Regions from separate parts of the Homo sapiens genome. Here all the other regions are linked to region 1. The links are contacts of gene promoters, found by promoter capture Hi-C in blood cells and fetal thymus (Javierre and others, 2016). All regions are on one chromosome and are shown on one strand. Each heading gives the region's core, a stretch centred on a gene start or on the middle of the fragment in contact. The rest is flanking DNA. Distances are from core to core; before and after follow the strand shown. Region 1 holds the start of ANKRD61 (ankyrin repeat domain 61). Region 2 overlaps CYTH3 (cytohesin 3). Region 3 has its middle 30 kb from the start of OCM.

The links. The method cuts DNA at HindIII sites, captures the fragments that hold promoters and counts their contacts. A CHiCAGO score of 5 or more calls a contact.
Region 2: a fragment that was not itself captured here is called in contact with the fragment with the promoter of ANKRD61 in region 1 in 2 of 17 cell types (megakaryocytes and erythroblasts); the score reaches 5.2 in megakaryocytes.
Region 3: a fragment that was not itself captured here is called in contact with the fragment with the promoter of ANKRD61 in region 1 in 1 of 17 cell types (endothelial precursors); the score reaches 5.5 in endothelial precursors.

What each region holds. Positions count from the first base shown.
Region 1 is chr7:6,029,705-6,033,773 of GRCh38, reverse strand. ANKRD61 (ankyrin repeat domain 61) reads right to left here and starts at 2,398. Exons shown (of 3, transcript NM_001271700.2): 1 at 2,183-2,398; 2 at 838-935. The coding sequence starts at 2,398. The region is part of intron 11 of EIF2AK1 (eukaryotic translation initiation factor 2 alpha kinase 1); the gene reads left to right. The HindIII fragment of the contact is 4,913 bases long and covers 1,190-4,069 here.
Region 2 is chr7:6,265,710-6,269,778 of GRCh38, reverse strand. The region is part of intron 1 of CYTH3 (cytohesin 3); the gene reads left to right. Among named protein-coding and RNA genes, the nearest start is that of CYTH3, 4.9 kb to the left of the region's middle. The HindIII fragment of the contact is 4,625 bases long and covers 1-4,069 here.
Region 3 is chr7:5,849,099-5,853,167 of GRCh38, reverse strand. It overlaps the pseudogene ZNF815P. Among named protein-coding and RNA genes, the nearest start is that of OCM, 30 kb to the left of the region's middle. The HindIII fragment of the contact is 1,294 bases long and covers 1,848-3,141 here.

The sequences.
Region 1 (4,069 bases), core at 1,149-3,648:
CATGGTGAAACCCCATCTCTACTAAAAATACAAAAAATTAGCCAGGCGTGGTGGCAGGCGCCTGTAGTCCCAGCTACTTGGGAGGCTGAGGCAGGAGAATGGCGTGAACCCAGGAGAATGGTGCCACTGCACTCCAGCCTGGGCGACAGAGCGAGACTCTGTCTCAAAAAACAAAAACCAAAAATAAAGAAAATCCATTGTCTACCTATATTTTATTTTTCACACCTAACTTTGGTGGTTAAACTTATTGAAGGCCATGGCAAGGACTTTACTGCATTCCTCACAACACCACCATTGAGCTCTTAATCCTCAGAATGTGCATTAATTTGGCAAAATATTTATGATGTTGCATTTTTCTCAGTTTTTCAGAGTATCTCATCTACTCAGTAAAGACATTGGTTCATTCATAAGAACGAACAAGTCCAAACATAAGTGGAAAAAATGTATGAACTGAAAAAAAAATCTATATCAGGTATATCCTCACTTAGAAATGATTGTCAGTGAAGCTGGGTGCTGTGGCTGAGGGCTGTTAATCCCAGCACTTTGGGAGGCCGAGGCAGGTGGATCACTTGAGGCCAGGAGTTCAAGACCAGCCTGGCCAACATGGTGAAACCCTGTCTCTACTAAAAATACAAATGTTAGCTGGGCATGGTGACGCACACCTGTAATCCCAGCTACTCGGGAGGCTGAGGTGGGAGAAGCTCTTGAACCCAGGAAGTAGAGGTTGCAGTGAGGCGAGATTGTGCCATTGCACTCCAGCCTGGGCAACAGAGCGAGACCCCTGCCTCAAAACAAAAAAGAAAAAAAAAGAAATGATTTTCGGTGGAGTTAACTTACCTGACTTCTGGGTCAGCACCGTGCCGTAACAGGCAGAGCAGACTCTGGGCCTTGTGGTACTTGGCAGCCAGATGGATGGGGATGATAGACTCTGTCGGCTTTGGAGGGAAAACAAAACACATTACAAGTGGCCCTGTGTAGTTAAAAATACTGTTTGTGTTAGCTTGCCGTTTCAAAGGCAATACATTTATTTAGTGTCTCATTGGCTCACTCTTTTTCTGGTATGTGCATTGAAAGTTTCCTTTCTACTACCTGTTTTAAATGATCAAAATTCAGTGAATTCCATCCTATAAAATCTGTGTTTCACAGAAATGCACATTTACTGAGGCAACAGAAATAACACTCAAAAGCTTTGGAAATTTTTGAAAGTTGATTCTTCAGAAGAGCCTGTGGTGTGATATTAAGGGTACTTGCTATGAAGTCACTTATTCCTTAAATTAACCCACAGGGTGATGGACAAGTAGGTGCTGTGTCGTTGCCAAAGTCGTATTATCAGCAGTAAAACCTGAATCTTCAGGGTTTTCAAATATAACGCAGCATATGTTCTGTCTATGATTAGCAGAGCTGTTTGTGCCAGCTCTTAAAATACACACGTGTAAGTAGTGGTTTCACACCGTGGCTGCAAGATAAGACAGTAGGGTACAAGGGAGGGTGACTTCCTTTTTGAATTTAATTGTAAAAGTAATAATCATTGTATAAAAATTTAGAAAATGAAAATGTATATATTAAAAAGGGAAAAACTATTTTTTGTTTGTTTGTTTGAGATGGAGTCTTGCTCTGTCATCCAGGCTAGAGAGTGCAGTGGTACGATCTTGGCTCACTGCAACCTCTGCCTCCTGGGTTCAAGCAATTCTCCTGCCTCAGCCGTCCGAGTAGCTGAGATTACAGGCTCCTGCCACCAAGCCCGGCTAATTTTTGTATTTTTAGTAGAGACGGGGTTTTGCCCTGCTGGCCAGGCTGGTCTCGAACTCCTGACCTCAGGTGATCCACCCACCTCAGCCTTCCAAAGTGCTGGGATTACAGGCATGAGCTACTGCGTCTGGCCAAAAAAGGGAAAAACTAATTTGACCACATGGAGATCATCACTGTGGGTATGTTTGAGAGATGACATGAATGGTCTTCCAGTCACACAGGGTCTGGTGTTTTCTCATGTTGGTTTGTGTGTGACATGTGTAGGGGAGGCTTTGCAGGCTTTGGGGAGCACTGCAGTGTGTGTGGAGTGAGCTGGAGTCGTGTCTCATTCTCATAAGGGCCGTGAGCTTAGTGGGTTCACCAGCTTTAGATCATGCTTCTTTCTAAGCAGCCTGACTTTTTTCCAGAAGTGACTGAGCAGAAAAGAGGGTACCTGGGTCAGAAGTAATCTGTTGCTGGCGGAGTTGGGCAGAATGGTGATGGGCTGGTTGACAGGGTGATTTCTCAGGAGTACCTCGATCGTAGTGCAGTCTTCTCTCATGATGGCTTCATAGAGTTTCGAGTGAAGTGCTGCAGATGGGCCATCTTCCAGGGACTTGGCACTGTCAACCACCAGGTCTCTGCTTCCTTTCCTGGTTATATTCCCCATGAGAAAAACTTAAGACTTCAGGGGAAAATGTTGTTATGGAATTGGTCAGTTTCAGTCTCTTTGTGATGATTCTTTCAGTTCAGTTCTAGAACTGTTCTAGAATTTGTCGAGAATTGGATCTGTGAAGGCAATCCATCAGTTTGGAACCAAGCGTCCAGACTTTGTTCCTTGATCATAGAATGTCAAATGTCAGCAGTTTTTAGGGTTTTCTACTCTATCATAAAAACATATTCAAGCTATCATCTTACACCTTTATTTCTGATTTCTCTCCAGTTCAAGTGTAGCTGAAACAATGATCAAAGCTAAAACAGAGGAATTTATACATTAAAATACAAAGTTAAAATTATTACTTTTAAAGTAAGAAAACTTTTAACCTTAAGTTATTTTTTAGTTTTTATTATAATAGAATCTTCCCTCTCCCCATTATGGGTTCAGTTTTTCTCCGGCATAGGAATAGTTTGGGAGATGTTTTGGGTCTGTACTCTTTGCTTAAATAAAGCCATTTAGTGTGATCTATTAGTTCCCAACCCTGGCTAATACATATGAGTTATCTGGGAGCTTTTAAAAAATATCAAAGTTGGCTGGGTGCGGTCGCTCATGCCTGTAATCCCAGCACTTTGAGAGGCCAGGGCGGGCAGAACATGAGGTCAAGAGATCAAGACCATACTGGCCAACATGGTGAAACCCTGTCGCTACTAAAAATACAAAAAGTAGCTGGCTGTGGTGGCGTGCGCCTGTAGTCCCAGCTACTCAGGAGGTTGAGGCAGGAGAATTGTTTGAACCTGAGAGGTGGAGGTTACAGTGAGCCGAGATGGCACCACTGCACTCCAGCCTGGCGACACAGCAAGACTCTGTCTTAAAGAAAAAAATCAGTTTTTTCGTAGTGCGAGAAACATGCTCACCCGTCCAAACCCAAAGAGTGAACTTAGAGGCACAAAGAACAGTGAAAGTGAGACTTTTAATAGCCCTCTTGCAAGGTCACGTGTCTGGTAGGCAGGTACACCCAGGGCAGTTACAACAGGTGATTTATCTCCTAGCATGCAAGACCCTACCTCAGTTCCTCACTGGTCAAGGACTACAGGGTTACGATCTTCCCGGACGTCGCCTAAGTTGCATTATCCCCTTAGAAGGTTATACCCTGGTCCCTTTCCCGCTTAAGTTTGGATTTCCCAGTAATGAAACTTTCTTCCCTTTTATGGGCTGACTCCTCTACATCCTGTTCACTTATTGTGATCTTCCAGGTGGATGAGCCATGTGGTTTGTTACATTTGCAGGCTGGCTGCCGGTGCTTAGATTTATCATGCCTTGAAAAAGCCATTTAAAATGTTTTCTCACACATAGAAAATCACGTCTCTGGACTCGACAGGACAGTCGTTTCTTTTCTTTTCTTTTTTTTGAGACAGAGTCTCACTCTGTTTCCCAGGCTGGAGTGCAGTGATGCGATCTCGTCTCACTGCAACCTCTGCCTCCCAGGTTCAAGCAATTCTGCCTCAGCCTCCCGAGTAGCTGGGATTACAGGCATGCACCACCACACCTGGCTAATTTTTGTATTTTTAGTAGAGATGGGGTTTCACCATGTTGGCCAGCCTGGTCTTGAACTCCTGACCTCAGGCGATTTGCCCGCCTCAGCCTCCTAAAGTGCTGAGATTACAGGTGTGAGCCACCGTGCCC
Region 2 (4,069 bases), core at 892-3,391, 240 kb before region 1:
AATGCAAGATAAGGAGAGAGAGGATGGTGGCATGAATGGCTGGAAGGCAGTTACAAGAGGAGCGAGTGGGGGGCACAAGATTACAAGAACACATTGTTCCTTACAGTGTGTGCAGAGTGTAGTTAAGTCGTTTTTAATTCCTATGGGACTTTGTTGCCTTTCAGTTTTTCGAGAACAGTTCTTGAGCTAATTGGAGGGTAGCTGGCTAGTTTGGCTCATTGGGATTGTCTTCGTGTCCTGTTTGGGCATTTGTCTGATTGATGGTCCTGAATGGACCATCCCTGGCAGATGAGGTGAATTAACTATAATTGGCATTCTTCTCTCTGACCCCTTCACTCCCTGATCAATGTAGGTGTCTGTGCTTCAGGTGAAGAGATGCTGAGCCTTGTTCATAATAAAATACATGCAAATTAAGACTAGATTGAGCTCCCACCTTTCACCTTCAGACAGGTGATAACCCCCAAGTATACAAAGTCTGTTTCAAGTTTGAAATATTTGAACGGCAAGGTCGTTTCAAACATTTACGGGTAAGAGTGTAAAGTAGCCACAGGCAGGGTCAGCCCATGTCCTGTTGGCTCAGATCCGTTTCTTGCCCTTTCCCTGCAGGGACTCACCCCTGCAGGCAACATTTCCCAGGCCCTTGGTCAGCTGGCTTCCGGCTGGGATTGGCCACTGGGAGCCACTGGCAGGAGGAATGGCAGGAAGAAGGACAAAAACAGGTTATTTCCCTTAGGCCTGCCTCAGGGAGTGTCTCTGGCAGGTACCTTGTCTCCTTTTGGCTCCAGCTCCTGCCCCTTGGTCCTAGCCTTTGAGTCTTGGAAATACCTCCTCCCTTTTACCCTCTATTTGAGAAGTGGTAACAGCAGCTTGCTCTTGATAATCTTTGTATTATCATTTCCTGTTTGGCTTTTCAGTTTTTCCATCACCCCTGTCACTAATTCCTTATATTAAATTCCCTCTATATCAGATTCTTAAAGGGATGGTTTCTCTGGATGTCTCTGTTTCTCTGGGTGGACCCTGATAGATACAGGTGCTTTAGGCAGTAGCTTTAAAAATTACAGGCGTGTAAATCCTTTGACCCAGCAATCCAGTTCTAGGAATTTAACCTGCAGATATATTTGTACACGTGTGAGATAACATAGGTACAAGATTATTTATTGCCTTGAGTGTCCATCAGCAAGCAAGAGACTTATCAGATAAATCCATGCCCAGATGGTTAATGAGGTTGTAAAGTTGTAGAAAGGAACGAGGAAGCTCTTTTCTTAGTTGACATGGAGAGATCTCCAAAATATCTTAAGTTACAAGAGCAGGCCGGGCGCGGCGGCTCTCACCTATAATCCTAGCACTTTGGGAGGCCGAGGCGGGTGGATCATTTGAGGTCAGGAATTCAAGACCAGCCTGGGCAGCATGGTGAAACTCCGTTTCTACTAAAAAAATACAAAAATTAGCCGGGAGTGGTGGTGCGTGCCTGTAATCTCAGCTACGCGGGAGGCTGAGGCAGGAGAATCGCTTGAGCCTGGGAGGTGCAGGTTGCGGTGAGTGAGATTGCGCCACTGCATTCCAGTCTGGGCAACAGAGTGAGACCCTGTCTCAAAAAAACAAAACAAAATTACAAGAGCAAAGTGTAGGAAAGTGTGCATTGCGTGCTCCCATTCTTGTGTTTTGAAAGAGGAGGTAATGGCTGATGCATGCAGATTCCCTGGAAGGTGAAAGGAGGAACCAATAACAATGGTTACCTGATTGGGGAAGATGATGGGAACTGAGTGGATGGGGAATATAGGTGGGAAGGAAACTTTTCACTATGCGCCTTTTTATTTTTTGAAATTCAAAAAAGTTTGAATAATCTGTCTTCACTTTTTCTAAAATTGGAAAGCAGTTTCATAGAAAAATAGTATGATGGTAAGAAAATACCCATTTTACACCTTTTTTGAGGGAATTTTTATAGATTAAAAAATACAGCTGGGCGCAATGGCTCACGCCTGTAATCCCAGCACTTTGGGAGGCCAAGGCGGGTAGATCATGAGGTCAGGAGTTCGAGACCAGTCTGGCCAATGTGGTGAAACCCCGTCTCTACTAAAAATACAAAAATTAGCCGGGCATAGTGATGCGCACCTGTAGTCCCAGCTGCTCGAGAGGCTGAGGCAGGAGAATTGCTTGAACCCTGGAGGCAGAGGTTGCAATGAGCCGAGATAGCGCCACTGCCTGGCGACAGAGTGAGACTCGGTCTCAAAACAAACAAACAAAATATTCTGGGAAGACCGCAACAAAAAGATAATGTGATATGCAATGTAAGGTTATAAAATGTTACCTATTTTTCATTCTGTAGTAAGTTAACTACTGTATTTTTGAGAGTTTAAAAAGTGGATGCTTTTAGATTATGCTTAGAGTATATTCTTTTGTAGTCATTTACTCAAATGTTGATGGTGTCTCTACCAAATACCAGGTTCTATGCATGGCACAAGAGCTATTAGTGCCTGTGTCATGCCGTTTTTGCATTGCTATAAAGAAGTACCTGAGCCTGGGTTATATATAAAGGAAAGAGGTTTCATGGACTCATGGTTGTGCAGGCTGTAGCTGTACAGGCATGGTGCCAGCATCTGCTCGGCTCCTGGGGAGGCCTCAGGGAGCTTTTTACTCATAATGGAAGGTGAAGCAGGATCAGGCACATCACATGGCTAGAGCAGGAGCAAGAGGGAAGAGATGCCACGCCCTTAAACGACCAGATCTCAGGAGTCCTCACTCACTATTGCAAGGGCAGCACTGAGCCATGAGGGATCTGCCTCCATGATCCTGTCGCCTCCCCTCCAAGTCCTGCCTCCAGCATTGGGGATTACAGTTCAACATGAGATTTGGGCGGGGCATATATCCAAACTGTATCAGTGCCTAACAGTGGTGAATACGGCAGATAAATTTCCCACGTTCATGGAGCTCATGTTTAGATGGAGAGACAGACAAAAGAGGTAAACAGCTATATATAAAATAATCATGTATTATGCTAGATGTGTTAAAGGAAATCAACAAGAGGTTGAGGAAGAGAAAGTGTGGGATGGGAGAGGTGTAGGGAAAGCCCGTGGCCAGGGAAGGCCTCTGAGGAAATGCCCTTCGAGGTGCAATCTATAGGGGTAGTGGACCAGACAGAAGGGAAGGCATGGAGCTGGCAAGAGCTGAGTATTCTAGAGAATTAAAAGCAGCTTTGTGTGGCTTGAACAGACAGTGAAGCGGGAGAGATAGACTGGGGCCATGTCAGGCTTTCAGTAGCTAAGGAATGCAGATTTTATTCTAAGTACATGAAGCCGCTGAAAGATTTTTAAACGGGGAAATCTCATTTGATTTACATTTCAATAATTTTAGCTAATATTTACTTGATGCTGTATGTCCTGTGTACTTTCTGCGTCTTAATTTATTGACTCTTCATCATATTGCTATTTTCAGATTGGAAAATGGAGGCATAGGGAAGCTAAGTAATTGGTCTGAAATTTCACAGCTAGCAGGTGATGGAGCTGTGATTGGAACCCAAGCCTTCCATTTCAGAATCCGTATTCTCAACCACTGCCCCCTGCTTTTTAAAGAAGCATATTCTTGACTCCTGAGTGGAGAGTGGTTTGGAGGAGAAGGGAGGACTTGGGAGAAGGGAGGTGTTGCAGTGGTTCAGGTGAGAGTTACGGGGCTTGGTGGGTTAGGGTGGTAGTGGGAAATATGGAGGGAAGGATATATATAAAACACATCTGTATAAAACATACAGAAAAGTACAAAGAATAATGAAACCAGCACTCTTGTTCCCACTACTCAGAATTGACATAATAGCTGTCAATGTTCTGTTGCATTTTTTAGGTCCGTTTTTTAAAAAATAAAGCATTACTGGTAAGTCTCTCCATCTCAGTATATTGTGGTGTTCTTCCAGTTGCTCAGGCCAAAATTTTGGTGCCATCTTTCACTTCTTTTGCCTTAAGCCTTCTCATGGTTCTCCCATTGTCATCCTTGTTCACACTGCAGCCAGGGCGATTCCCTTTGACACGCAGGTCATGTCACTCCTCTCTGAAAGTTTGCTCTTTCCTCGGTTTATTGAGAA
Region 3 (4,069 bases), core at 1,245-3,744, 180 kb after region 1:
TAATTTACTGTGGATATTTTGCATTATGTAGGCAGCACCTTATACCCGACAGAAGAGTTGAGGGCGGGGGGTCGGTGGGGGGGTGGGGGGGTGGGGTCCAGTCCCAACTCAGGTGTGCTATAAACTGGCTGACCTCAGATGAACCTTATTATATTGCTGAGCCCAGGTTTTCTCAACTACAACCATAATAATAAGACTTTGCCTCTAAGTTTAACATGGGGAATAATGACCGTATGAAAATATAGACTCAGCCTGGGCAACATCGTGCGACACCCATCTCTGCTACAAATTTAAAAATTAGCCAGGTGCAGTGGCTCACGCCTGTAATCCCACTGCTTGGGGAGGTAGAGGCAAGAGGAATGCTTGAGGCAAGGAGTTTGAGACCAGCCTGGGTAACAGAGCGAGACCCCATCTCTATGAAAAAGTTAAAAAGTTAGTGAGGCGTGATAGCATGTGCCCGTAGTCCCAGCTACTTGGGAGGATAAGGCAGGAGGATCGCTGGAGCCCCAGAAGTTCAAGGCTGCAGTGAGCTATAATCGCACCACTGCACTCCAGCCTGGGTGACAGAGCAAGACTATGTTGCCTCTGCTGGTCTCGAGAGACCCTTGTAGTCTGCTGCCTACTCCATGTAGGATGTAGTTACATTGATAATCTTGTTTTACAGATGAGGAAACTGAGGCTTGAATGATTTACCCAAAGTTAGCAAATGGTAGAGCTGAGACTTGAAGCAAGCTGACTCTAGCATGTTCATCTTAACTCCCTGGAGACAAGGAGCTCAGAACCCAGTGGCCTGGGTGTCTCCAGGAGTGAGGAACGGGAAAAAAAACTGCAACCTGGCTAACTCTTCTGTCTCCAGTGGCAAGAAAGAGACAGAAACGGTTATTTCAAGATGTTGTGATTATTGTTATTGAGGCAGCATCTCACTCTGTCTCCCAGGCTGGAGTGCCGTGGCGCAATCTTGGCTCACCACAACCTCCACTTCCCAGGCTCAAGCGATCCTCCCATCTCAGCCTCCTGAGTAGCTGGGACTGCAGGCACATGCTACCACGTCCGGCTAATTTTTTTTGTAGAGACAGGGTTTCACCATGTTGCGCAGGCTGGTCTCAAACTCCTGAGCTCAAGTGATCTGCCTGTCTCGGCCTCCCAAAGTGCTGGGATTACAGGCGTGAACCACCGTGCCCAGCCAAGACATTATTCTTTTGTAAAGTAAACATAGTTGCTCTTAGCATATGGTTCTCAATTGATGGGCGTGTGTGTGTGTGTGTGTTCTCTCTGGAAAAGTTTTCTCTGGGAGAAAATTCTAGATTTCACTGTTTTACATTTCAAAGTTGCCAGTTTGTTAAAAAAATCAGGCTGAGAAGAAACATGTTAGGACAAAAATGTGAAAGACTGTCATTAAAGCAAGCAAGACCAAGGACGGAGTTTTACAGACTTTGCACAGAATTCTTGGATCAACCCATGGACGCGGTGGTTGATTTTAACAGGAGCTGCAGAGTCTAATCCCTTTCATCACAAATGCATCTGGGACCAGAGCCCGATTTCCTGCTGCCCTTGGGGGACTTTTTAACCATTTTTTTTCCCCAAGCTTAGAGTATACATCAAATCCCAGGTCCACACTGACCCCCACTCTGGGCTGGAAGGGCCTGACCTCTCCCAAGAGAGTGGGGGTGGAAGAGAAGCTGTGAAATACAAAGTCATTTGATGGATGTGACACTGGGCACAGGTTGACCATCAAGCCAGGGAGGAGGCCTTTATGCCCGAAAACCCCTGAGCCTGTTCCAGGGATGCAGTGAACCACTCCTGTACCCACCCAGGCTTGCCTAGGTGTGTTGTGTGCCAAGGAAGCTTCAGGGAAGAGAGAGGACAGAGAGAGGTTGGATGTCTAAGTGTTGTTCAGTAAAGTGAACAGAAAGCAAATGTTCCAGTCTGGGAAAGTAAAATCACATATAAGAGGAAAGCGGATTGTCATAGAAGGTCCGAGGCCCGGGCTAGGGAAGGGAAAAACCACACGCTCAAAGTCCTGGTCAAGGCGTGTCCACGTTAATGGGAGAGAAGCACCTTCCTCCACTGTGGGGCCAGGGCAGGGCCAGAGCACCAGCTGGGAGTGGATCCTACACTTTTTTTTTTTTAATTGTGGTAAAATATGCGTAACATAAAATTTGCCATTTTCGCTATTTTTGAGGGTACAATTCAGTGGCATTTATTACATCAAAAATATTGTGCAACCAGGCTGGGCATGGTGGCTCACGCCTATAACACCAGCACTTTGGGAGGCCAAGGCGGGCAGGAGGTCAGGAGTTCAAGACCAGCCTGGCCAACGTGGCAAAACCCCATCTCTACTAAAAATACAAAAATTAGCTGGACATGGTGGTGTGCACCTATAATCCCAGCTACTCAGGAGGCTGAGGCAGGAGAATTTCTTGAACCCGGGAAGTGGAGGTTGCGGTGAGCCGAGATTGCACCACTGCACTCCAGTTGGGGCGACAGAGCGAGACTCCATCTCAAAAAAAAAAAAAAGAGAAAAACAAAATATTGTACAACCATCACCATCATCCATCTCCAGCACTTTTCCATCTTCCCAAACTGAAACTGTCCCCATTAACCCTCACTCTCCATCCCCCTTACCCCCAAGCTCTGATAACCAACGTTTTACTTTTTTTCTGTCTCTTATCAGTTTGACTATTCTAGGTACCTTATATAAGTGGACTCATGCTGTGTCTACCTTTTTTTCTTAACAAGAGTTTTGCTTGTTGCCCAAACCGGAGTGCAGTGGTGCGATCTCGGCTCACTGCAACCTCTGCCTCCCAGGTTCGAGCGAAGTCTCCTGCCTCAGCCTCCCGAGTAGCTGGGACTACAGGCGTCTGCCATCACGCCCAGCTTTTTGTATTTGTAGTAGAGATGGGGTTTCACCATGTTGGGCAGGCTGGTCTCAAACTCTTGACCTCGGGTGATTCACCCTCCTCAGCCTCCCAGAATGCTGGGATTACAGCCACTGCACCCGGCCTGATTGTTCAGTTTCTCAATTGGAACATGAGTAGGGCAAGTTCAAATTCTAACTTAGATGACATGCAGGCCAGTGCACATGGACTCATCCAGGTAAAATCTTGCCCTACCCAGAGCCCAAGGACAGACAGGCAAGCTTTCTGTCTCCAGTCTGCCGTCTCCCTTGATGTACAGCCTGTGGAAAGTTCTGCGCATCTGAGTTATTTCAAGGCCAGTTCTGTCTTGTGTAGCCCCCAAGTTCTTGTTTCTTACCCTTCTATACCATTTAACATTCAAGTTCCAAGTAAACAAAAACCCATAGAACAGCTACAGCATCAACTCACAGACTTTGTTTTTCAGTACCTTCTACATAGCTGGCACCTGGATACTTATTTTCCTGAGAGCTGAATTATGTATCTAAAAGGATGTCAGCGGTTGTTGTCCGTCATGTCCAGTTGTTTTCAGTGGGTTTTCACTTCATTTCTATTGAGAGAGGGTCTCACTGTCACCCAGGCTGGTGCGCAGTGGCACGACCATGGCTCACTGTAGCCTCAAACTCCTGGGCTCAAGGGATTCTCCCACCTCAGCCTCCCAAGTACCTGGTCCTACAGGCACGTGCCACCACGCCCAGCTAATATATATATGTATTTGGTACAGACAGGGTCTCACCGTGTTGCCCAGGCTGGTCTTGAACTCCTGGGGTCAAGTGACCTGTCCACCTTGACTTTCCCAAGTGCTGAGATCACAGGCACGAGCCACTGCCCCGGTGATTTTCACTTTAGACGGTCCACCGTATTGCCAGAAAATGGAGTCCTAATATAGAAATATAACTTGTTTTGAGACAGAGTCTTGCTCTGTCGCCCAGGCTGGAATGAAGTGGCACAATCTCAGCTCACTGCAACCTCTGCCTGCTGGGCTCAAGCAATTCTCGTGCCTGAGCCTCCCAAGTAGCTGGGATTACTGGGATTACAGAAAATCACCAGCATGCTCAGCTAATTTTTATATTTTTCAGTGACGGGGTTTCACCGTGTTGGCCAGGCTGGTCTCAAACTCCTGACCTCATGTGATCTGCCTGCCTCAGCCTCCC